Regions from separate parts of the Homo sapiens genome. Here all the other regions are linked to region 1. The links are contacts of gene promoters, found by promoter capture Hi-C in blood cells and fetal thymus (Javierre and others, 2016). All regions are on one chromosome and are shown on one strand. Each heading gives the region's core, a stretch centred on a gene start or on the middle of the fragment in contact. The rest is flanking DNA. Distances are from core to core; before and after follow the strand shown.

What was found. The method cuts DNA at HindIII sites, captures the fragments that hold promoters and counts their contacts. A CHiCAGO score of 5 or more calls a contact.
Region 2: the fragment with the promoter of ST20-MTHFS here is called in contact with the fragment with the promoter of TMED3 in region 1 in 12 of 17 cell types (fetal thymus, non-activated CD4 T cells, naive CD8 T cells and 9 more); the score reaches 17.6 in fetal thymus.
Region 3: a fragment that was not itself captured here is called in contact with the fragment with the promoter of TMED3 in region 1 in 1 of 17 cell types (megakaryocytes); the score reaches 7.9 in megakaryocytes.
Region 4: a fragment that was not itself captured here is called in contact with the fragment with the promoter of TMED3 in region 1 in 1 of 17 cell types (naive CD8 T cells); the score reaches 5.4 in naive CD8 T cells.

Annotation. Positions count from the first base shown.
Region 1 is chr15:79,309,819-79,313,090 of GRCh38, reverse strand. TMED3 (transmembrane p24 trafficking protein 3) reads right to left here and starts at 1,979. Exons shown (of 3, transcript NM_007364.4): 1 at 1,674-1,979. The coding sequence starts at 1,841. RefSeq lists silencers at 1,806-1,875, 2,086-2,135. The HindIII fragment of the contact is 2,251 bases long and covers 824-3,074 here.
Region 2 is chr15:79,921,093-79,924,480 of GRCh38, reverse strand. It overlaps ST20-MTHFS (ST20-MTHFS readthrough), which reads left to right and starts at 1,389. Exons shown (of 4, transcript NM_001199760.2): 1 at 1,389-1,442. ST20 (suppressor of tumorigenicity 20) reads left to right here and starts at 729. Exons shown (of 3, transcript NR_037653.2): 1 at 729-1,029. It overlaps ST20-AS1 (ST20 antisense RNA 1), which reads right to left and starts at 1,710. Exons shown (of 1, transcript NR_028330.1): 1 at 1-1,710. RefSeq lists enhancers at 1-150, 352-401, 832-1,011 and silencers at 542-691, 1,312-1,361, 1,372-1,441, 1,462-1,571. The HindIII fragment of the contact is 4,343 bases long and covers 1-1,873 here.
Region 3 is chr15:79,860,916-79,864,320 of GRCh38, reverse strand. All of the region lies in intron 3 of ST20-MTHFS (ST20-MTHFS readthrough), which reads left to right. All of the region lies in intron 2 of MTHFS (methenyltetrahydrofolate synthetase), which reads left to right. Among named protein-coding and RNA genes, the nearest start is that of MTHFS, 34 kb to the left of the region's middle. The HindIII fragment of the contact is 2,633 bases long and covers 581-3,213 here.
Region 4 is chr15:79,899,497-79,902,447 of GRCh38, reverse strand. All of the region lies in intron 2 of ST20-MTHFS (ST20-MTHFS readthrough), which reads left to right. The region is part of intron 2 of ST20 (suppressor of tumorigenicity 20); the gene reads left to right. Among named protein-coding and RNA genes, the nearest start is that of MTHFS, 4.0 kb to the right of the region's middle. RefSeq lists a silencer at 191-240. The HindIII fragment of the contact is 4,190 bases long and covers 1-2,951 here.

The DNA of each region.
Region 1 (3,272 bases), core at 730-3,229:
CATGAAGTGAGGAGTCAATAAGTTATCACACCTAAAGTGTTTAGCACGGTGTCCAACATAAATTTAGCAAGGGCCCCAAAAGTGCCAGCCAATTACTGGACAATCGTCAGACTGCAAACTAACCCCCTGGGGTTGCAGTGGAGATGTGGGATCTGATTTGGGGGCCACCCTAGAGCATGCATGCTGCACCTCCTGCTTCTCCGTTCCAATAACAGACAGGTGTTCCCCCTCCCCCCACCAGCAAGGGTCATTCTTGGCTTGCTGAATGGGTCAAGTAGCTATTAACAATATATTATTAATGACTGAATGCAAGGAGAAGAAAAATATTGATCGAAGTATTCATGGAATTTCTGAGTGTCAGCGGTGGAAGAGTCTTTGGGAATCATTTAGTTCAAACTCTCCTTGTAACATAAGAAAAATAAGACCCACATAAAGCAAAATCTCACAGGTAGGCAATGGCTATAACCAAGATCCATCAAAGGACACGGTCAATGGCCTCCATCTGCTTCCAAATTTAAATGGCCTCTTTGTCCGGACAAAAGTTACTAGTCCTGCTCAGCAAGCTTTGCAAAAAGCAGTGAGTATCCTGTTGCTAAGTGTGTTTAAACCCAGGCTGGACACACTTTGACAAGGGATTTCCGCCCTGGCAGTGACCAGATGACATCTGAGGTCCCTGCAACCACAGAATTATCATTCTTTTTGTCATTGCACCTAGGTTGCCCATGTTAACCCAGTCACAATTTGCATGTTGTCCACAAAGACCTGAAAGTGGACAAATCAGTGACTGAGACTACCACATAGAAGTTGTCTCCAAGCGCAAGCTTCCTTCAGTGCCTCTAACCACAGAGGAACTGGTCAAATAGCTTGCCCCCATTCCTGCTGCCCGTGGCCCCTCATTTCTGAAGTGCCTATCAGCATGCGTCCACAAGCAGATAGCTGTCTGAGTATGATGCCCACTTGGCCCCCAACCCTAGACCTGCTCACTAAATATCGGGGCAGACTACTCACTCAAGACCTGCTCCTGTCACCTGTGGGCCACGGGATCTCTCAAAGGAGACAGGAATACAGGAACTGAGCTTTTCTAAGCCATATGGCAAGAGCCAAGTCTTGCAGCCACACCGCTCCTTGTAAACACCGCCAGGCCTCAATGGCTGCACTGATCCCTCCTTTCCAAAGTGCCCATTCTCACTTCTGCTGCCCTCACCTCACTCCAACTTTAAACGCTGGAGAGGGGAGGAATAAACTAAAACTATGAGCCCACTTCCTCTTGCTGCCATTTTTCAGTACTCGAAGGCACAAGGTGGTCTAAGAGACTGGGGTTAGAGAGCCTGTGTCCAGCCGATCAGAACTGCCGTTGGTTAGTGTCTCGGGGGCCTGCGGATATCTCTTTGGCCAGCTCCCCAGGCTGCGGGATCCGCCCTGGCGTCCCCATCCCGGGCTCGCACCTGCGGCGCTGACTACCTCCTCGCTGGCCAGGCTCGTCTCGGGTGGGCCCTGATGACCCAAACCTTCCTCCTCACGGGGAAGTCAACTGGTCTCCGGGGACTCCCACCCCATGCAGCCTCCCTGTAGCCTGTGGCTAATTCGAGCGCCTCCAGTCAGGGGCTAGCCAGTGTCCAGGTGAGACCTGGGAGTGGAGGGAGAAGGGAGCGCTGCCGGGCGCCCGGCCTCACCTGGTAATCCAGGGAGAACTTCACGCCCTGCTCCACCTCCTCGTGGAAGCACTGCTTGGCGTTGTCCGGCAGCTCGAAGGTGAGCTCGGCCCCGCAGGGCTGCTCGGCCCGGCGCAGGAGCAGCAGCAGAAGCAGCACGGAGGCGGAGCGCGGGACAGTGCTGCCCATGATGCTCTCGGTCCCGTCTCGAGGGCCGCGGCTCGGGCGCTGCGCCCCCGGCGGGCTGGGGCGACGACTACCGACCGGGTCCTAGGAGGATGTAAGGGGATAGACGTGGCACCAGCGGAGCTCTGCGCTTCCGGGAGGGCCGGCGGCTCAGTGCGCAGCCGCGCGCTCAAAGTGGGCCCGGGCACCTTCCGCCCGCTGCGCGTGCGCGCTGGCCGCGCTGCGCCAGGGGACACGCCCCCCCCACCCCCCCGCAACGCCTCTCCCGGCTCGGAGGGTGGGTCTCCGCGGAGGGGAGGTGGGGCTCCACCTAGCGCGCCCCTACCCAGAAGAGGGAGAAGCCCTCCCCGCTGTTCTGCGCGCTCCCGGACCCGCAGGGCTGAGCATCCCCCCAGGTCGACCCAGGTCCACCCTCCAGCTGCTGCAGCACGAAGCACGTGGGATTTTACTCCCTCTATAAGGCTCCGCTTTTGACAGGCTCTGTAACTTCAGTCTCACACTTCCCTCGAGAACCAGTCTCCTTGTCTTGAAATGGGTGTGCCCAAACCTAACATCCACAGTAGTTAGGGAGCTAGGTGAAAGATAAGGGAACGCTGGGAACCCGATTAACACTCCTTTCTTCATTCCCATACCCTTCCCAAGGTGAAAGAGTGTGCGAAGGGGGTGGGGAGTGGGGAGAGTAAGTAAAGACCCATCATTACACCTGCTCTGGGAAAAACACGAGCGTGCTCACACACAAACGATCTCATGAAAATCCAAGTAAAGTCTCGCAGCGACTTCAGGTATATTTTGGCTGTCAGGCTCGTTGAAAATTCTTTTTGCACAAAACTGTCATTTTTGCACTTTGACTTCTTAAAAGCTCTGAAAGCAGATAAATTGGTTTACTGTCTTACCCATGACCACTGACTTAAGATTCTTTTGTATAATCGTAACTATAGGTATAGTTTTATATTCACTGTGATCCAATAAACAAAGAGAAAAGACGTAGATTGTGATGTCGATACTCAATAAATAACTTATTCAGGAGAGCATTACTAGACGTGGTATATCTTGACTTCAGGAAAGAATGTTACTGCCCATATAGATTTCCGCTGGCCACATTCACTATGGATGAACACGCTAATGTGTGAAAGCAATCTGTAGGCTTGGAAATAACATGCATGCATAACATAGTTAATAATATTGACTGGCTCAGTGACAGGCATGGAAGAGGTGTTTAGTAGTGTCCCTTAAGCTTCCTTCCCTGGCACGGTCCTATTTCACGTTTTTTTTTTTTTTAGGAACTGATAGAAAACATGGAAGTAATAATCATCTGATCTAGATGAACTAAGTGGAGAAATAAATGACAGATATAAAACCACAATTGGCCGGGAGTGGTGGCTCACGCCTGTAATCCCAGCACTTTGGGAGGCTGAGGCGGGTGGATCACGAGGT
Region 2 (3,388 bases), core at 140-2,639, 610 kb before region 1:
CCCGCCTGTAATCCCAGTTACTCGGGAGGCTGAGGCAGGAGAATCGCTTTAAACCGGGAGGCGGAGGTTGCAGAGCCAAGATCGGGCCATTGCACTCCAGCCTCGGTGACAAAATATAATAATAATAAAATTAAAAAGGGCTTAGCATAGTATCTGGCCAGTAAGAAGAAATTATGATTATTATTTTGACCTTAGACCTCTCTTAACTGTCTGAAATTCGGGTTTCTTAAAGGACACAGGCGGTCTCTGAGGCTCCCGCCAGCGGAAACAATCTCCCATTAAAATAGGCATCGGTTAAATATTTGCTGAACAAAGTAAACTACGTCTCCCCGAATCCCATTGAGCGCCTACTCGAGATCCGGACCGGAGCCGGGCAGGACGGGCCCGTCGGTCCCACACGCCGTATAAGTGGGTGGAGAATACCCCACACGCCCAGACCAATAGGCGGGGTGAACGAGGACCGTGTTCACCAACTCAGCCCGGCTCGCGGAATGCCTTCTGTTCGCCTCCGGGCTTGCAGTGGCTTTCCGTCGCAGGTCAGGCCGCGTTCCACTTCCGCCGGCAGTCCAGACACGCCCCTCCGGGTCCAATCCCCGCCCCTCACACACCTGGCCCCGCCCCGTCGGGAGCTCGGCGGTCCTCTCTGCGCTAGGTCTTCTTAGCGCCCGACGGGGCCACGCCCATCCCCGACGCTCTGAGGTCACCTACAGGGCCGACCCTCGGTGGGCGGAGGGACGGAGGGAAGATGGCTGCAGAGACCGGATATTGGCGCTGCCTCCCCGAATCCCGGACCTGCGCTGAGGAGGCGGTTCATCTGTGGCCAGCGGTGCTTCGGGACCCGCGCTGGGGGAACCCTGGCGACGGGGCCTGGCCCTGCTATATGCGGGGGCCTCGGCTGGAGTGAGCGGCGTGGACGCCTCTTTCCTCCGGCTCTTCCCTTGTTGCTGCGAGAGCGAGAGGGCCGCGGGCGGCGGAGGCAGCGGGGCCGGGATGGAGGACGTTAACTCTAACGTGAACGCGGACCAGGAGGTGCGGAAGCTGCAGGTGCCGGTGAAGAAGCTGGGGAAGCAGCACGAACAGCCGAGGAGCCGCTCGCGCTGTGCTGGGCCCCGGCTCCATCGCGGTTCGCCGGCTCCTCCACTCCCTCCTACGGCGCGGGGTCCCCTCGGGGCTTCCCCTTGGGTCTCAGCGCAAAGTCGGGCGGCGGGGCCGGATGGACCCGAGGCGGACGAATAACGAGGAGCTGCGAGACGCCACCTTCTTGCTGGCGGCGGGGGAGGGCGGCTTGCTAGACGACCTGGAGCGTCTGTCAGGCTAGGAGGAGGGGGAGGAGAGCTGGTGAGCGCCGGGCGCCGGGCGGGGCTGGGCGGGGACGCCCCGGTGGCGGAGGACGTCCCGGAGGATCCCTCTGGTCGGGCGCCTGGCTTTGTGTAGCCAGCCAGGTCCGCTCTCGGCGGGTACTCGTGGTCTTGCTCTGGCAGAGGGGAGGTCAGTTGGAGTTGGGGGTTCGAGGCTTGCAAGTACAGGGCTTGTAGCTCCTTCTCTGGATTGTGGACCCTCTGGGTGCTGGGCCCTATTGGGGTTGGTGGGTTGGTTGGATCCAGAAGGGCTGTTCGCCGTGGGGAGGAGTCGGAGGTGGGAAACTGCTTTGTAGGCAGGGATTCTGCTTTGTATAGGAGACCAGCTTTCGGATGCTGGTCTGGGCATTTTGGATGTTGGGGAGGGGTTTGGCTTGATGAGGTATCACCAAGTTCGGGGGGTGCAGACCAAAGTCGCCGACGTCTATGCAGCGGTTGGTGTTTGGGATCAATTTCTAGCGTGGATGGGGAGACCATGTGGATCAGCACTCCCCTTTAGGTAGTGGGGTAAAGCTTGCTCTGTGTGAAGAGGTCAGAGGATGGTGGTGTTTTGTGTGAAGAATCAAGGGTGAAACAAGAGCCCTGGCTCTGATATTTTAAAACAAGAATTGAGTCTGGCATTTTGCAGAGCTCTGAATTGACATTTATCACATCTATCCTTCATTTCCATGTCCTCCTATGGGCAGAAAAGAGTCCTATTTTAATACCTAAACCAAAGCTGTATTGTCATAAGCCACTTCTTGATGAAATTGTGACACACACCTTAATATCACTTTCATAAATAGGAAATGGGAGGCTTTTCTCCTCATTTTATTATAAAGATGTCTGTGGGAAATTCTCTTAATTCATCCTCTTTAAAATTTTACCTTTTAGCTAAAATGTCTCTGTTGAAATTCAAATTTCTAACTTAGTGAAATCGAAATCATTCATAGACTGTAGTATTGCAGGGCTCGAACTGTGCAGTGTTCTGAGGTAGTTAAGAGCTTTGCTGGATTCAGGCCCTGGGTTTGCCCAGGCCTGTATGACCTTGAGCAAGTTATTCTGAGCTTCACTTTCTTCCTCTATGATGGAGAAAATAATGATAGCACTTACCTCTATAGAGTTATGAAAATTTAGTAAGATAATCCATGTATGCATTTAGCACTGTTGAGATCTTGGCTTACTGCAAGCTCCGCCTCCTGGGTTCACACCGTTCTCCTGCCTCAGCCTCCCGAGTAGTTGGGACTACAGGCACTGGCCACCACTCCCTGCTAATTTTTTGTTTTCGTATTTTTAGAAGAGACGGGTTTCACCGTGTTAGCCAGGATGGCCTCGATCTGACCTCGTGATCCTCCCGCCTCGGCCTTCCAAAGAGCTGGGATTACAGGCATGAGCCACCATGCCCAGCCTATTACTCTTAAGCCTAGTTATTTAAATCAAACATTTAGTGAGCTCTTACATGATGTTATAGGAGACTCTGAAGATTCTCAACTGTTGATTCCTGTTCATAAGGCAGTTATAGTCTTGTTGAGAACTAAGTTTTATGCAGATAAATAAACTAGAAAGTGTATGGTGAATTGCCGAAAGAGAGAACAAAAGTACTGTCAGTGCGCAGTAACTGGGAAGAAAACAGTAGTCCAAAGTAGAGGGGCCAAACTTTGAGGAGGAGGCTTTGGAGTCTGGAAGTGAGGAAAGAGTGGGAAGGGCATTTTATGCTCTGACAGCTACAAGAGCAGAGTCAGAGATATTTGTAACTCCCAGTTAGGAGATTTGAATAACAGAAGTACTCTTGAGTATATGGTGACAAACCTTTATTTTTTATTTACTATTTTTTTTTTTTTTTGAGACGGAGTCTCGCTCTGTTGCCCTGGCTGGAGTGCAGTGGCATGATCTCAGCTCACTGCAACCTCCGCCTCCCAGGTTCAAGCAATTCTTCTGCCCCAGCCTCCCAAGTAGCTGGGACTGCAGGTGCCCACCCCCATGCCCAGCTAATTTTTGTGTTTTTAGTAGAGATGGAGTTTCACCATACTGGCCAGGCTGGTCTCGAACTC
Region 3 (3,405 bases), core at 648-3,147, 550 kb before region 1:
CGCCCACCTCAGCCTCCCAGAGTGCTGGGATTACAGGTGTGAGCCACCGTACCTGGCCCCAAGGACTTTTTGTACAGAGACAGTGACATGGGTAAATTATTAGTAGCTACCCTTTGTCTACTAAGTGCTAAGCCTTATGCTAAGTGCTCTTACATATGTAAGCTTATTACTCATCATGACTATGTTATTATCTCATTTTCACAGTTGCAGAAAGTAAGTCTCAGAGCATTATTTATGGGCATGCCACAGTCAAAAGGCAGAGCCAGGTCTTCCTGCCAGGTCTGCTTTCCCCGAAGGCATGCTGTTTGTGGGATGGCACACGGTGCCTTTCCTTACTGCCGTCATGTGCTGTGGAGGCGAGTAAAAGGAGGGCATGCTCAGGTTATCAGTTAGAATCAGATTCGGCTGCATGTAGCAGAAAACTCCAAAGTATCAGTGAAAACTTCAAAATATCAGTGAGATGCTTGGAAAAGAAGTCTGGGAGTTGTATTTATAGTCTGTGGCTGTTGTACAGGCCCCACAGTCATTAGGGACAGATCCTGCCGCATATGCCATATGGTCCTGCCTGGTATCTCAAGCTTCGGCTATCAACTCTGAATTGTAGTCAGCAGGAGGAAAGAGAGGGTGTTGGGAGAAAAAGAGCATCCTTCACCTTGAAAGTCCCATTTGTCAGAACTTAGGCACAAGGTCATACATAACTACCAGGGAAGGTGAGAAATGTGGTGTTGCGGTGGGATTCATGGCCTCCTGAGTAAAGTTTTCTGCTACTAAGGAGAAAGAGAGAATGATGTCCAGATGGGCAACCAGCAGCCTCTGCTGCATTCAGCTCAAGGCAGGTTGTGATTTCAGTTGGTGTCATGGCCTGAGCTGAGGCTGGAGGCCCACGTTGTGAAGGGTATTGTATGTCACACATCTGGGATTTGAACTTTATTTTGTAGGTGCTGGGAGTTAGTTATTGAAAGACTTTAATCATAGGAGTAACATGACTAGTTCTATGTTTGGGAAAGGTTGTTCTGCCAGAAATAAGGAGGACAGGCTGTCCCAAGGGACAGCCAAAGAAACTGGGAGTGGACCATCCCTTGGGAATCTGATGGATTCGAATGGATGAGAAATGATGACCACTTTTAGAAATGGAGAGGATAGAACAAGTTCTGACATATGCAGCATGTAGAGTCTCCAGGCCACTTGAGGCTGTTGAGGGACAGTCTGGCTTTGCCATCTGCATGTCATGCTCTTAACCTAGGCAAAGAATGCAGAAGAGAGAGGAGATGTAGGGGGTTGGGGGACACATAGTGAATCCCGTTTGAGGTGGCTCCAGGACCTCCCAGAAATGCTGGTAGATGGCTAGTTGGATATATAGCTCTGGAGGTCAGGACATAGGAGATATTGATTCAGGACTTGCCAGAGTATGGTCTTGGGGTGTGCCCTGATATTACAAACAGGGATCTTAGTGGCTAGGTGATGAGGCCATGGCAAATGTAGATGGACCAAGATCAATTTGCCTTTCTAGATGAGGTTTTCTAGGTGAAATGTTTTTGAAACTATTTTGTAGCCTAGTATAATTTATAAAAGTAGAGAGAAACTATAAATATAAATTTGGAAGGGGTTAGCTAAAAGGAGAAAACAGCAGAATCTTCATATATATAGAAATGGATATTAATTTGCTAGAATTAAGAGACTGCAGGTAAAGATAGTTTTTTTAATACCTCTTTTTGCTGTAGAAAGGACAGGATAAAATGATAAAGGGATGCTGGAATGAGGAATGGTAACTTTAGGCAAGATAGTCTTCTGTGAGGGCTGATATGATCAATGAGAGTAAGACATTAGAAATACAAGAATTGTCCTGCTGCTCACCCATCAGCATTTTCAGTTTCTCCTTGCAAAAGTAGTAATTAACTTTGTACTTTGAGCTGTATGTTCAGTTAGTGATAAACCGTAGATAAAAAGCAGATTTAATTGGCTGACCCCAGGTAAGACTTGCCTCTCTCATGTACCCTTTGAAGGTTTAACAAATAAAATTTGAGGGAAAGGTTGATGTTACTTATAGGGTGTGTTAGTTAGTTTTTTGGGGGTGGGAAGGAGGCATATTTATGTGCAAGCTGCCAAATATTTGAGATAAGGACATAGTCTTTGAATGAAAAACAGGGATATGAGAGGATTGATTCAGTTAGCCGTCTTGGCCAACCCAAGTTAACTGTACTTCATCTTAGTCTATGTTGGTGTTAGAAACAACAAAAAGGAAAAAAAAAAGCCAAACAGTAGAGCAACAATTCATTCATTCATAAAAGTAATTACATGCCATCTAACTAATCACATGGTAAATAATTTAAATGGTTTAGAAGGGTATGAAAGAAAAAGTCCCACCCCTCTTCTTCCCAGCCTGTTCCCCAGATGTGACCACTGTTAACATACTTGTGTATCCTTCTAGATATATATATTTGTATCCTTTTAAAAAATTTATACAGATAGGATCGGAGTTCACATTTTGTTTTGCATCCTACTTTTTCACTTGTTGATAAACCATAGAACTCTTTTCATAGCAACACATATAGATTTAGCATAGTGTTTTAAGTGGTTACATAGCATTGATGTGCTCTAAGTTATTTAACCAGTCTTCTGTTGATAGCTATTTGGGTTGCTTCTGTTTTTTAGGTATTACAAATAAAAATAAAAAAGAACATCCTGATAGATATTTTTCTGCATAGTTATGCAAGTAAGTCCATGGGATCAACATCTATCCATGAAATGGCTATGAATTCTAAATTTTTATAGGTGTTTCTGTATTGCTTACTAAAAAAGGTTATGCCACTTTACGTACTCATCACCAACACATGAGAGTATGTTGACCTCTCCCTGAGTGAGTGAATGGCCGAAATAACAAATGAACGTGCATTAATGACTACCAGTTGTGTGGTAGCCTCCATGTGATGCCCTGGAAACAAAAAGATAAATAAGGGGCAGTGGTGTCTGGCCATAGGAGTTCACATTTTGTTGGGGAAGACAGGTGTATGGAGGGGGACGATGGATAAGGAGTGGTTAGGATCAAGGTTTTGGTCTTAGGTGGAGTTGAGTCTAGTTACTGACTGCTGCATACTAGCTGAGTGGACATGAGTAAACCCCTTCACCTAAGCCTCTGATCATTTGAAAATGAGGGTAATAATATCTGCTTCACTAGATTGTTTTGAAGATTAAATAGGAAATTTACATAAAGCTTTTAGTACAATGCCAGTGCATATAAGTGCTTGATGATGATGATGACGACGATGACTATTCCACATGAACTAGTGATTTCAGTCCTGGTGCTAAGGATCCCATTGGGATGTGCCCAGAGTGCTCTGGGAACACAAGATGGAGATTTCTCTTTGCCTAAAGTGCATGAGAAGGCTTCAGAAGGGAAGTTGTAAT
Region 4 (2,951 bases), core at 1-2,500, 590 kb before region 1:
TTCGCCTGCCTTCCCTCTTCTTTTCGCCCAGGTATCCCTTCCAAGGAATTCTTCTCCTCAGAGAAGTCTTCCTTGATCAACCCATCTAAGAAAGTACCACTATCACTCTCTGTCTCCCTGCCCAACTTTATTGCCTTCATAATAGTTTTCATGACTGGACATCCCATTGCATATTTATTTGCTTATCTGTTTATTGTCTGTGTCTGCCATGAGAATGTGAGCTTAGTGAGGACACGGATCCTGTATGCTTTGTTCACCACTGTGTTTCCAGTACTTTAACTGATACTGGCATGTGGCCAATGCTCAGTGAATATTTCCTGAGTGAACAAAGGAATAGTCTTTAGAGAAGTGAGAAAGCATGATACTTGCCTGTATCTTTTTTTTTTTTCCCCATACAAAGTCTTGCACTGCCACCCAGGCTGGAGTACAGTGGTGTGATCATGGCCCACTGCAGCCTTGACTTACCAGGCTCAAACAATTCTACCAACCCAGCCTCCCAAAGTGCTAGGATTACAGGCATGAGCCACTGTGCCTGGCTGCCTGTATCTTTAAAAATTCTGAGGTTCTGATTTTCTTTAGATTACTGATACTGTATATTATTTTATGCTTTAGGTTTTGTTGAAACCAAGGTAGCTGAATTTAACAAACTATCACTGTTCCCAGAAATAATAAGGCCTGAACAATTCTTATTTACTACTGCATTACTGATAGGATATTGAATCCTTATTTGTATATTTATTTTTATATAATGGTCTTAAGATACAAATAGCATCATTAAAGAAAATATATTTGAAAATAACATTTTTGAAAGGAAGAAAAGTCACTCCCATCACCCTAACATATCCACATGCAGACATTGTATGCAATTATAATTAGGGTGTACATAAGAGTTTTTTGGTGTGACATACAAATATTTTCAACACTGTCTCACATACTCCATGTTAACATTAGGCATTAATTTCTAATGTCTACAGAATAGTTCATTAATTTGCCATATCATAATTTACTTAACCAATTCCCAATTGTTAGACAATTTGGTTTTGATTTTCCCCCTTTTATTTATTTATTTATTTTTTGAGACAGAGTCTCACTCTGTCATCCAGGCTGTAGTGCAGTGGCTTGATCTTGGCTCACTGCAACCTTCACCTCCCAGGTTCAAGCAATTCTCCTGCCTCAGCCTCCTCAGTAGCTGGGATTACAGGCATGTACCACCACACCCAGCTAATTTTTGAATTTTTAGTAGAGACAGAGTTTCACCACATTGGCCAGGCTGGTCTCGAACTCCTGACCTCAAGTGATCTCCCCACCTCAGCCTCCCAAAGTGCTGGGTTTATAGTTCTGAGCCACTTCGCCCAGCCTGGTTTTCCCCTTTTAGATATAATGGTTCAGTAGTGAAGCATAGGTATGCTTTTCTGGTGCCCCCTACCTTCCAATATTTTAGAAGACTGCCTCATGATAAATTTCTAACAGTGGAGTAACTGGTTCATAAGATGTGTGTATAATTACGATATTCTAGCATACTGGAAAACATATTTTCTTTTCGAAAGTATTATATCAATAGAACAATATCATAGCAACCTTATCAGTGTGGGTGGTACTATTAATAATTTTGAGGGTTTAATAGGCATCAAATAAAGCCACTTTAATAGGTCTAAAAAAAATAAGACTTTGTTAAAATGTACATTTCTTTAACTGCTATTAATGTTTTTCTCATATACTTGTGAATGATTTATATTTCTCTGTTTAATGGTCTCTCCTTTTTAAACTATTAAGGGCCTGAGAATTTTCTCTCACATTTGAATGAACACTTTCATGGTATATGTAAATATTTTCCTAGTTTATTGTTCTTTTTAGTTTTTCATAGTTAAAAAAATTTTTAATCTTCATCTGGCTGAATTTATCAATATTTTCTTTGTTCACTGTCCTTTCTTTAGACGTTGATGTATATGACATGTTAACTGATCAATGATAATAGACAATGATTATCGTTATAATAAAAGTCATTTCAGAGGGTCTCATCATACTTGCGAAATATGGTGTTTAGGAAGGGGCGTAATGAAGTGGATACCTCCCTAGAGTGTAATCTATGAGTATGTACTGGCAGAAGGGAAAGAGGAAGAAGAGGGGCAGTTTCCTTCCTCTGTCAAGGCATGACAGCATGTCTCAGAGCACGACGCACACTTACGTAGGCAGAAAATGGCTTTCTAAGTCTTTCAAATGAAATCCCCCTGGCTGGTGGTATTCATCTGCTTTGCCAGTGATGTTCATAAAATGATTCCAAGGCACCGCAGAGCTCTCGAATCTCTCCCAACTATCAAAGGGTTATGCTTGGTTTACGTTTCAATATTAGTTACACTTTGCTCTGAGCTACTTGCAGGCATTTGTAACCCCAGGTTCTGGAACCTGTAAGATGCAGCCACAAATGTTTGCTAGATGAACATTCGAAAAAATTATTTTAACAATTTTCGAATATTTTGGCACTTGTTTGGAAATGTATGGAGTGGAAAGAAGTAGGGTATTTGCATTCTAATCCAGGTCCAGGCACCAAGGGTTTGGCTAATCTTAGATAACTGATTTTTTTTGTGGGCCTCACTTTCCTCATTTGTTAAGAGAGAGCATTAGGCTAGATGATCTCAGAGGGACTTTTCAGTGAGGATTCTATGATTATAGATTGTAAATTAAATAAAATGTCCAGTTAATTGGGTTATCCTACATTTTTAAAACTATGTCCGATCACAAAGAGAGTAGATTATAAAAGAAACCATCAACCTTTTCATAGCTTCAAAGGTATTGGTTTAATTTGGATTTACTGTGAGTTCTCATGAGTTTCAATACAATGCAGTTTACAGTATAATAGAATTCATATTACAAATATAAGTGCATTGAAATCAATGTTGGACAATTAAACAAGAACAAGAACAAAAAGACTTTTTATCCTCTAGAGCTGTGCT